Linked DNA regions of Homo sapiens: region 1 is linked to region 2. Evidence: promoter capture Hi-C in human tissues and cell types (Jung and others, 2019). All regions are on one chromosome and are shown on one strand. Each heading gives the region's core, a stretch centred on a gene start or on the middle of the fragment in contact. The rest is flanking DNA. Distances are from core to core; before and after follow the strand shown. Region 1 overlaps SIK3 (SIK family kinase 3). Region 2 holds the start of SIDT2 (SID1 transmembrane family member 2).

Region 1 (5,719 bases), core at 1,782-4,281, 210 kb after region 2:
TTTTTTTTTTGTATTTTTAGTAGAGACGGGGTTTCACCATGTTGGCCAGACTGATCTCAAACTCCTGACCCCAGGCAGTCCGCCCACCTCGGCCTCCCAAAGTGCAAAATTTCATTTTTTATAGTTTAATTTCCCACCATAACTTTGACATTTTTCTTTGGAAATAAACTACTTTTTTAAAAATTTCAAAATATTTCTATAAGTTGTAGGTTGAACACCCCTAATTCAAAAACGAAAAATGCCCCCAAATCTTAAACTCTTTGAGTGCCAACATGACACCATGTGGAAAATTCTATGCATAAGCACTTAATACAAACTTGTTTTTAATGCACAAGATTATTTAAAATATTGTGTAAAATTACCTTCAAGCTATGTGTATAAGGTGTATATGAAACATAACGTTTTGGATAAGGGATATTCAACCTGTATTGTTATTCTTATTATTTTTATTGTTTTATTTTTTGAAATGGGGTCTCCCTCTCGCCCAGGCTGGAGTGCAGTGGCGTGATCACAGCCCACTATAGCCTTGAGCTCTTGGACTCAAATGATCTTCCCACCTCAGTCTCCTGAGTACTAGGACTACAGGCATATGCCATCATGGCTGGATAATTTTTAAAAAATTTTTTGTAGAGTTGGGGGTCTTGCTGTGTTGCCCAGGCCGGTCTCGAACTCCTGGGATTACAGCATGAGCCACCAGGCCGGCCTATTTTGTCATTATGCCACTTTCTTAGACAGTGTTCTTTGGTTGCCATTTTGAACTATTAGAACTGCCTTGTTAAACCATTTAGCTTTTGCCCTTTTCTTCCCCAGATCCCTAATACTTTTCTGCCCAATCCTTTCTCTCTATTCAGAGTGTTTCCTGTTTGTCCTACATTCTCTTTCTGTCCTCCTTCTTTCCTGCTCTTCCCTCTTTTTTTTTTTGAGACGGAGTCTTGCTCTGTCACCCAGGCTGGCATGTAGTGGTGTCATCTCGGCTCACTGCAACCTCCACCTCCCAGGTTCAGGCGATTCTCCTGCCTTAGTCTCCCAAGTAGCTGGGACTACAGGCATACACCACCATGTTTGGCTAATTTATATATATATATATATATATATATATATATATATATATATATATATATTTTAGCAGAGACGGGTTTTCACCATGTTAGAGAGGCTGGTCTTGAACTCCTGACTTCAAGTGATCTGCCCGCCTCAGCCTCCCAAAGTGCTAGGATTACAGGTGTGAGCCCTGCACCTGGCCTCTTCCCTCTCTTTTTTTTAGGGCTTTGAGGCATCCTTTTCAACAGCTCCTTAACCTTAAAATTAAGCCATCAATCCCATTCTAAGTATCTCCCTCTTAAACTTCTGCAATTTGTTTAATCTGAAATAAACACCTGAAAATAGAAAATTGAATATCTATATTTTGTAAATAATCCTGATTGACCTTTATTTTTATTGTCAACTCTCTTTTCCTCCACTCCTTTTTTTTAAAAAAAAAAAATTGTTGAATACATTTAAGTGATAAACCTGTAGGACAAGAGTTGATTTAACTATAAAACATTGTTGGCACTTTGCAACAATAACAATCATGTCAGTATGCCTGAGAGAGTTGCTCATAATATTGGAGACACTCGTAGGCTTCTGTTTTCTGAGAGGGTAAATGTCAACCAGATGGGAATTACTGGAACTGAGAAATCATTTTCTTTTTGTCTTTAAAAATTTCTCTTCTATATCTTGAATTTCAAGTAATCACAGAAAATTTCCTTTGCTTCAGATACCATTTACTAATTTTGCACAGTATACCATTTTCCAACTTATTTTCCCACTTTCAGTAAACTTTCTGTTCTCTATCCAGACATTGGAAATGCATGAACTATTTTACAGTCACCATTCAGTACAGCCTAGAGGGCAGAAAAATAAAAGTTCAACCACTCACCTAAAAAGCACTATACATTTTATTGTATTTTATTATTATTATTATTATTATTTTTGAGATGGAGTTTCGCTCTTGTTGCCCTGGCTGGAGTGCAGCGGCGCCATCTCGGCTCACTGCAACCTCCGCCTCCTGGGTTCAAGCGATTCTCCCTGCCTCAGCCTCCCAAGTAGCTGGGATTACAGGTGCCCACCACCACACCTGGCTAATTTTTGTATTTTTAGTAGAGGTGGGGTTTCACCATGTTGGCCAGGCTGGTCTCGAGCTCCTGACCTCAAGTGATCTGCCTACCTCGGCCTCCCAAAGTGCTGGGATTAGAGGCATGAGCCACCGTGCCTGGAGTGCTATACATTTTAAATTATAGTTGTTAACCACTTTCTGTGGAGTTTATTGAAAGCTGCCTGACCCTTATCTTTGCTGGCCATGTAGAGTCCTTGTGTCTCGAGTTGGCTAGCATCCTTGCATCCCAGCCATTCCTTAGGCTTGACAGCTGCATATTTTCCCAGAAACAGTTGTGATTGGTGTGTATAATGAATAGAATAACCTGTTCTTTCCAAATATACATCCCTGTTTTGCCCCTTAGTACTTGATTTGACTAATTGTTTCAAGCTGAAATATAGACTTCAATTAAAAAATTGGAAGCCAGGTGTGGTGGCTGTTGCGTGTAACCCCAGCACTTTAGGAGACTGAGGTGGGAGGATCCATTGAGACCAGCCTGGGCAACATAGTGAGACCCTGTTGCTACAGAAAATTAAAAAATATATATTATCCAGGTGTGGTGGTGTGTCCCTGTAGTCCCAGCTACTCAGAAGGCTGAGGTGAGAGAATGGCTTCAGCCCAGAAGGTTGAGGCTGCAGCGAGCTATGGTCGTGTCACTGCACTCCAGCCTGGGTAACAGTGCAGACGTTAGGATCTTCCCAAGAATGTGGCCAGCCTACATCCTGACCTTGGTCATGTGGCACGTTATTAATCATGGCCATTTAATGTGTAACAGGTTGCATTCAAGAGCCTAGCTTGTGTTGGTTTGGGGTTCTTTTAAATTTGTTTTCTGTTGACAATTCTATTTTCTAGTAAATTTTAAATAAAAATGTTTTTTCATTAAGGCTGATTCCAAAGGTACTTAAGTTCCTTTCTAGCCAGCCATTCTTAGCTGGGTCCTGTGAAAGCATTATGCCCTATAGAAAAGAAAATTGAGTGACTATTTTCTCAGTTCTCCCAAACATGGTACTATTCTAGATGCATTGAAGAGAAGTCAATTCATTACATACAGTGATGCTTTAAGGGCAGTTGTTCTCAGAGTTTGATTCAGGGATGTCATAGACTCCAATACTGTTTCAGTGGGTCCCCTAGGTCAAAACCATTTTTAAAGAAATGCCACAACATTATTTTCACTTTTCATTCATAGTCTCTCACAATTATAAAATAGAGATTTCCAGAGACTATGCTATGTATGATGCTGCAATTGCTCTGATGACCAAGGAGATGTGTGGTTGTATACACGTGTCTTTTAAATTTTTGTCTTAATTTCTGATTTTTAATTTGATTTCTAAGCAAATATTGAAAGATATTACTCACATAATCAAAACTTCTTTGAAGTTTCTCCTAACTTTTAAGAGAAGGAGTCCTGAGACCAAACAGTTTGGGAACTGCTGTCTTAAGGCTGTAAGACTTAATTCTCTGAGAGAACCCCTCCTGGGAATGGCTGCACACAAGGGCAGTACAGTAAACCAGTCAGTTGCTCAATAGACATTTTAAAAATTGAATTAAATTGAGCTCCTAGAATATAACTTTTGAGACCTTATTTGAGATTTTCTCCCAAGGCAATGTTTGAGCATTGAGAGCCTTGTAACTTGGGCCAGGTTTCTGTGAGATAGACAGTTGGCAATTCTCAATATCAAGTCAATGATTTCAGAAGTCATTTTCAAGGAATACGTCCTTTAACTGGTAGATTAATTATGTAGCCTGTTGGCATTATGTGGATCAGTGCCGTCCAAGAGAAAGAGGGCACATATATTATTTACAATTTTTAAATAATCATATTAAAAAAGTAAAAAGTGGTGAAATTAGTTTTAATATCTTTTGTTTAGCCTAATATATCTAAAATATTATAATTTCCACATGTAATCAATATAAAAATGTATCAGGGAGATAGTTTAATTCTTTTTTATATTACTATCTTTGAAATCTGGTATATATTTTACATTTATAGCGCATCAGTCTGGATAGTTACACGTGGCTGGTGCCTACTGTATTACACTGTACAGATCTAGATCATAAAATAGTTGTAGAGCTGAGCCGAGAATGTTCTAGAGTAGATAAGCTTTGTCATAAAAATAGAGAATAAAAATTTTGCTACAGAAGTTAGTATAAAAACATAACCCCATTGAAAAAAGCTTACAATGACAAAATGTTTGATATCTGCCTAAATTCTAAAGACATTTCTAAAAGAAATAGAGCTCTTTCCTTAAAACAAATTTTTTAAAAAAATAAGCTTTTCTTCAAACTGTAATGTTTTCTCTTTCCTTCTAAAAAGCATGCAGTCTGCTCACTATATTCTTTGAAATTACTGTATGTTCATCTGCATACCAGTGTAAGGAGATCCTCTTTCTCGTCTTGGAAGAATTTGAGCCCTTGTGATCTTTGCATTTCCCTCCTACGTAGTTCTTTCTTGAACTGTCCATTTGTCCTGGCATATCCCTGAATCCGTACTATCTGCTATAGGGCATTTATTTCTGATGGGGAAGGGTGGTTTGTTTTGATCTTAATGCTGAACTGTCCCTTAGTTCATTGTCTTTTACTCTGTTGCCGTATCTTGCTTACAAATATGGTGTCAGAATATGCAAGTGAATTTATTGCCTGTTGTGAAGAAACCACTATTTTTTTCAGCTTCATTCACTATGAACATTATTGTGCTTACAAAAGTGAGTTGAGTTAAAAAGAACTGTGTTTTTTAGAAGTGAGAATTAAAAGGGAGAAATAGTAATTTTTCCTCTCATAGAATGAATAATAAAGAACTATGACTTTAAATTTGGCATGATCTAAATTTAATTTTTTTCCTACCACATGCCAATTGAAACAGAAGAATTTGTTGAATGGGAATGTCTTGAGTAGGGAAATTAAGGACTCTCACAATCTGTTATCTCTTTAGTAGCATACTTGATACAGTGTCATGTTTAATTAATATTAGAATGTCAATTTACAAAATCATGCTCTTTGGAAGATAAAAGAATTCTGTGTAGAACAGGCAAACTTAGGAAATATATGGTCTCTTGGTAACATGTTGGAAGTTTTCTGCTTTGTTATAATTTTCATATGTAAGTACAATTAGGAGATTTATAGATTTTCAACCCCAATATAATAACATTCTTTGAGAGTTTATCTTTTCTTTACCTACTGATTTACCTTTGTTGTGGACACATTCAGTTTTTCAAGCAACTGGTGTGTACTTTACACCAAAACCTTTATTATATAGTCTTCAGTAATCTGTAGCTGTGAAACTCATACTCATTTATCTGTTTAGATATTCTCAAAACAATCATACCTGTGTGCCAGCCACCTGCTGTCTGACTTGGCAGTTTCTCTGTTCCAACTTTATTTTTCTGCTTTTTAGAAAACTCCCACTTTCCAGTTTGCAGCTAAGGTAGGAGCTGAGTTCCTTTCCCTGTTAAGTGGTCTTATCAGGCAGTTATGCCATTGCCAAGCAACAGTAAGTTCTCTCCTCTCAGGTGTTAGCTAGTAGGTAGGGTTGGCAAGGGGAGCCTGGCCTGCTGTGAAGAAGTAGACCAGTGTCTCTCTGCCACAGCC
Region 2 (6,177 bases), core at 2,379-4,878:
AGCAGCCCCTTTCTCTGTATACCATTCCCTTCAACCTCAGCAGGGCACTCAGCAGAATGCCAGAGAGGCAACCAGACTCCATGTCTCTGTACAGTCCCATGCTGTCTGTCCCTCACCATGTCAGGGCCAGAGCTCCTGTTTCCAGAGAGCCCTCCATGGAGAAAACAGCCAATTCAAAAGGCCAAGCAAAGACCGCTGGCCACTCCCATTCTCATATTCAAGCTCCCCCATTTCTCCTCTCGAGCAATCAACAGGGAGATGTTACCTGGGGCTGTGCTGCTGTGGTATTGAAGCTGAACTGCTCCCCAGTCCTGCAGGGCAGAGAAGAGCCCCCACCAGTCACCCCCGGAGCCTGGGGAAGAACCAGCCCCCGTGGTCCCCTCACTCTACCCTGCAGACCTGAGCACAAAATCGTCCATGCGGCTGACCCGGAGCTGGTATGTGGTGTTGACTGGTGACAGGGTGGACACATCCACGTAGAAGAACTGAATCTCCGACTCATTCTTGGTGGGGGGCTGACACAGGGTTCGTTCCACTTTTTGGTAGAGGTACTTGCGCTGAAACCTATGGCCCGAAGCAGGGAGATAGGATGTGAGCACTGTCCCAGCCGGCCTGCCCCTCCAGAGGAGCGAGGCCCCACCTCGCCCCGTCTGGTCTCCACCACCTCCCTGCGAGGTGCACAAGCTCCCGGCTGGTGGGACTCGGCCCTTGTGCTGTTGACCAGCCTCCCAGCCCAGGGAAAGGGGAGGAGAAATGGGGGGGCTCCTGGTTGAGGCTCCAGCCAAGGACTGGCCTAGGCTGCCCCGCTTCCCTGATGCCCAGATCCTACTCACATCCCTCGCAGGATTAGGGGCACCTGGAAGGACACCACAGCCTCCTTCTGGCGGACCACAAACAGCAACGGCGCCCCCTTCTGCTTGTTCAGGACGTTCACAGACACACGCACGCCCTCTGTCTGCAGAACGACATGGAAATGCCTCTCAAGCCTCTGCCACCAGGGACACGTGGCTCCAGAGACTATGAGCCCTGCCCTCCTTCATGCCAGCTACTTTGGTCTTTCTCCATCTTGGTCGGGCCAGGGAGTCATCTCTGCCTCTTCTTCTGCCAGAACAACCCCCAGACTCCAGGAAAGACCTGTGCTGAGTGCAGCTCCTGGCCGGCAGACATGTGCAGGGCAGCAGGACCCAAGCAACCGCAGGGTCTCACCCTCTGCCAGGAAACACGGTGGAGGCCTTGCGAGTCTCCAGGATACCCCATTCCTATCCATGTGCACAGGATGCACAGGCCTGCACACACAAACGTGTACACACGCCCCCACACACGAAGACACAGGAGAACAAGAAGTGCTCCTCAACCTTCCTGTGAGCCAGGAAGCCAGCAGGAAGCTCTAGTTAACAGCTAACCTGGGGCCAGAGCCCAGAGGAGTTGAGGAGGGGTAGGTATTGAAGGCCATGTTGTATCCTTAGCTCCCACCAAGGGACAGGGCTGTGGAGAAGTCACTTTACTTCTCTAAGCCTCAACTTCTCCCTCTATAAAATGACAGCCGGGTGCGGTGACTCACGCTTGTAGCACTTTGGGAGGCCAAGGCAGGAGGATCATCTGAGGTCAGGAGTTTGAGACCAGCCTGGCCAACATGGTGAAGCCCCATCTCTACTAAAAATACAAAAATTAGCTGGGTATGGTGGCAGGCGCCTGTAATCTCAACTACTTGGGAGGCTGAGGCAGGAGAATCGCTTGAACCGGGAAGGCGGAGGTTGCAGTGAGCTGAGATCACAAAACTGCACTTCAGCCTGGGCAACAGAGTGAGACTGGTCTCAAAAAAAAAAAAAAAAAAAAAAAGATAAAGTGATCTTCACCCTTGGAGCTATGAAGGAACATATATAAACAATGGGAGCTTAAAGGAAAAATAAAACCAAATCGATCTTGGAATGCTTGTTATTGGGCTGCTGAAACCCAAGCCCTAGGGCAGCATTTCCCAAAAGAGTAAAAACCACAGCTCTCCAGTGCCTTTAGATATGGGAAAAAAGGAAGAAAGGACTCTAAGCAGAAAGAGATCAAACTTCAGAGAACCAGGCACTGGGGGCAGATCCTGGCCTGCCACAGAAACCAAACCACTCCCCGTTCTGAAAAAAAATCAGATTCCCCATTCTCAACTCCATTGCTTCTCAGTAAACGGCAGTCATGGAGAGAGAGCAAGAGACCCGGGCACGAGACCACACAGCCAGGTTGCAAGAATTCTCCCAATCTCAGCTCTGCCTGGGGTCTAGACTTCCCACACTAGCTGTGTCTATTTCAACTCAGGGACTCACAGCTGGTGAAGAAACCAAAGAGAAGTCAGGGTGAAGTGGATTTTTCACAGTGGACAAATTCCCCTTCTCTTCCCACCCAACTTGCAGTTGGCCTTATAAAACCTCTGTCACCCTCAATTTACAAGGCCAGCTGGCTCTCCCAGGCAGGAAGAGGGCTGGGAAGCCCTGCATTCATCTCCCTGGGGAGTCTGAGATGTAACTTGCCTGCACAGAGCTTTTCAGTTCTGGGCCAGTCTCATTCCCCTGAGGTTTTCTGGGCAAGCCCAGTAATAAGCCTGTTTCCTCTCCCACCGAGACCCCACAGAGCTGTCAGATTCTGGGGTTTAGGGTAGAGAGCAAGCCATGTGTGCTCAGACCACAACTGATGGAAGAATGGGGGCGGAAGAGAAGATGGGAATGAGCCAACTTCAAAAACTGCCCAGCTGGAGCTTCAGAGAAACATTGGTGGCAAAGGAAGGAGGACTGGTCAAGAGGCTCCAGTGTGGTTCTGGGAACTGGGAACCTAGCAGGACAGCTCGTTCCTGGGGCCTCCCAAAAGGGTAGCGGGGCGGCAGAATCGCCTAGCCCTCGTCGGCTTCCCCACTCGCCTCTGGCCCCTAAGCCCCCAGCCCTCACCCTGTTGCGGGTCACAGTATGGTTGAAGGTGTAGATGTTGACCAGCTCGCTGTTGACCTCGTCCACGTAGGTGCGCTCAAACTCGGCGTCTTTCTGCGAGACGTTCTTGGGCCCCAGAACCCCCAGATGGCTCTCGACCGAGGCCACCAAGAGCACCAAGAAGGGCAAGCCCAGAGCGAACATGGCCCCGGCAGGGCGGCAGTGGCAGCGGTGGTGGCGGCGGCGGCGGCGACAGGAGACAGGACACCTCCGGGACGGGTTGCGGCTGCGGCCGCAGCTTCCAGCATCTCACCAGGACCAGAACTTTAACCCCGGCCTGAGATTAGGAAATGTCCCCTCCCAAGAGCCCCGAAGAGGCTCCCAGGGTCCCCGCAGGGGAGGGGGCGGCCGGGAGGGGGCGGGGAGGGAGGGGATGCTGGCTACGGGAAGGGGTCCCAGCTCGCGAGGGGCTGAGTACGACCTGAGACCCTGGAGCCCCGGGCCAGGGCCGTGAGAAGGAGGGCGGCTGGTTGCCGGGAGCCTGGAGACGCCGGGAAAGGGGAGGGAGGAAGAGCCGGCGGCGGGGGCTGGCCGCGGAGGAAGGCGAGTCGCAGAGTGAGGGGCGTGATAGGTGGTAGCTACCCGACGCCGTGCTGGGCTGCGAGTTTTCCGAGGTGCGGGCCCTTTAAGGGCGGGCGGACGCGCCGTCCCGACGCACGAACACTGAAAAGTGAGCTGCGCCGCTGGGCGATAAACAGCAGGGCTGCTGGCCCGCCCGCTGACGTCAGGGGAAACTGACACAGATTTAAAGGACCAGGTCCCGCATTTGCCCTTAAAGGGGCTGCAGCTGTCTAGCTGAAGGGGAAAGCTTGCAATGCCTTCTCCAACTCCTACCCAACTCTCTCCCGTGATTTTCACCATCTCTGAAACTCACGTTGGAATAGGCAGATGTTTCTGTTAACAATCTCCAAGTGTTGGGTTCTTGCTGAACAACTCTTACATTTGCTCAAACATAAGGATTCCCCCACCCCCACCACCACCTTTACAACTAACATCGTCCAACCCTGGGCCACTTTTTCTCCGGGGATCTTAAAAAATGAAAAACTCGAAGGATTAGGAAACAGGACGGTGGCCCTACCGGCGGAGGGGAAACGGAGGCAGCACTGCAGGAGGAATCCCCATGCCTTTCCCACCTCCCTCTAGAGGGGCCACACAACTGCAGGGACGGCCTTCCGAGCTTTCCAAGCTTGCCGGGCTGTTTCCCCTCTTCTCTCAGAGACAGTTACAAAACTCATTGAAAGATACTGACCTTCAGTGTAAATTGGTGAAAACTTTTCTACAAAATATTTTGGCACTGTTTCAAGAAACTTAGAGAGCTTTATACCCTTTGATCCAGTAATTCCACTTCTGGACTCTATCCTAAGGAAATAGGAAGCACAGATAAAAATACCTGGGCAGCTACGCTTATCACTGTGATATTTATAATATAAAGCAAAAAGGAAATGACTTGGATATCCATAATGAGGGATTGGTTAAATGCACTATCATGAAGGCATCAAAAATGATGCTTAAGACTTCACAGGACACGTAAGCAGAGAATTCAGGATATGACACTAAATAAACAGTATATAGAGCCAGGTGCCGTGGCTCACACGTGTAATCCCAACACTTTGGGAGGCCAAGACAGGTAGATCACTTGAGGTCAGGAGTTCGAGACCAGCCATGGCCAACATGGTGAACCCCATCTCTACTATAAAAATACAAAATTAGTGGGGCGTGGTGACGCGTGCCTGTAATCCCAGCTACTGGGGAGGCTGAAGCAGGAGAATCGCTTAACTCTACCAGGCGGAGGTTGCAGTGAGCTGAGATCATGCTCCTGCACTCCAGCCTGGGCTGCAACAGAGCAAGACTCTGTCTCAAAAATAAATAAGTAAATAAAACCGTATATATTCCAAATGCATATAGACATGCATAGAAAAATAGAAAAAAATTGTACTAAACATTTAGCAATGTCTCCAGAAAGCAGGGCAAATTTTAAAAATAAAATTTAGCAGTAGTTATCTTTGAATTACAATTTTAAAAATAACACATATTGTATATCATTTTCCTTTAATTCTAAAAATATAGAGTAGTACCAAAAAATAAAAAATAATGGATTGTGAGTGGTTCTTAAATTTTATTTTTTATATTTAAAAAGATTTACAAATGTTCTACAATGTATATATATTTATATATTGCTTTTTTATCTGCCGGGGGGTGGAGACAGGGTCTCGCTCTGTTGCCCAGGTTGGAGTGCAGTGGCACAATCTCAGCTCATTGCAACCTCTGCCTCCTGGGTTCAAGCAATTCTCCTGCCTCAGTCTCCCGAGTAGCTGGGATTACAGGCCATGTGCCACCACGCCCAGCTAATTTTTGTATTTTTGGTAGAGACGGGGTTTCACCATATTGGTCAGGCTGGTCTCGAACTCCTGACCTCAGGTGATCCACCCACCTCAGTCTCCCAAAGTGCTGGGATTATAGGCATGAGCCACCATGCCTGGCCACATATATTGCATTTATAAGACAAATTAGACTTTTTTTTTTTTTTTTTTTTGAGATGGAGTCTCACTGTCACCCATGCTGGAGTACAGTGGTGTGATCTCAGCTCACTGCAATCTCCGCCTCCTGAGTTCAGGCGATGCTCCTGCCTCAGCCTCCCAAGTAGCTGGGACTACAGGCACCCGCCACCACACCCTGCTAATTTCTTGTATTTTTAGTAAAGCGGGGTTTCACCATATTGGTCAGGCTGATCTCGAACTCCTGACCTCGAGTGATCCACCCACCTAGGCTTCCCAAAGTGTTGGGATTACAGGCGTGAGCCACTGCGCCCGGCCAAATTAGACATGTTTAAAGGAAAAGAAATGTGGCCACCTCTGAAGCTGTCAGACATCCTAATAAAGCCACCCAGATCAGTGCCTTGTCAGAGTTCTCTCAGCTGGCAGGATTGCAGCAGTCTCAGCTCCCAGCCCTGCCCAACTATCTGGAGCCTTGTTCCAATGAAGACTATTTTACCTTATGATCAGTTAGTTATATTTACTCATTCCTGCAATAAATATTTAATAAGCATCCACGATGTGCCAGGTACTGTTGTAGTTATGCTGGGCAAATGGTGAGTGGAGGAATTAGTTTTGGCCCCTGTCCAAGCACAGCATACTTGAGGATGAAGACCAGAAGCAAGCTGCACCCCTTTTCCAAAGGGTTCACCAATTAGAAAGTCAGCTGGAAGATAACCTTA

Evidence for each region. Contacts are between HindIII fragments. The study calls those that stand out against the background at their distance.
Region 1: a contact is called between a fragment that was not itself captured here and the fragment with the promoter of SIDT2 in region 2, in 2 of the 25 tissues and cell types used here (hippocampus and pancreas).

Annotation. Positions count from the first base shown.
Region 1 is chr11:116,961,137-116,966,855 of GRCh38, reverse strand. The region is part of intron 1 of SIK3 (SIK family kinase 3); the gene reads left to right. Among named protein-coding and RNA genes, the nearest start is that of APOA1, 130 kb to the right of the region's middle. RefSeq lists a silencer at 2,256-2,456. The HindIII fragment of the contact is 8,386 bases long and covers 1-5,719 here.
Region 2 is chr11:117,176,194-117,182,370 of GRCh38, reverse strand. It overlaps SIDT2 (SID1 transmembrane family member 2), which reads right to left and starts at 3,628. Exons shown (of 26, transcript NM_001040455.2): 1 at 2,925-3,628; 2 at 834-955; 3 at 400-564; 4 at 266-311. The coding sequence starts at 3,107. It also overlaps a transcript of PAFAH1B2 not described here. RefSeq lists silencers at 653-712, 3,320-3,529 and enhancers at 151-946, 1,183-1,242, 2,270-2,339. The HindIII fragment of the contact is 11,732 bases long and covers 1-3,960 here.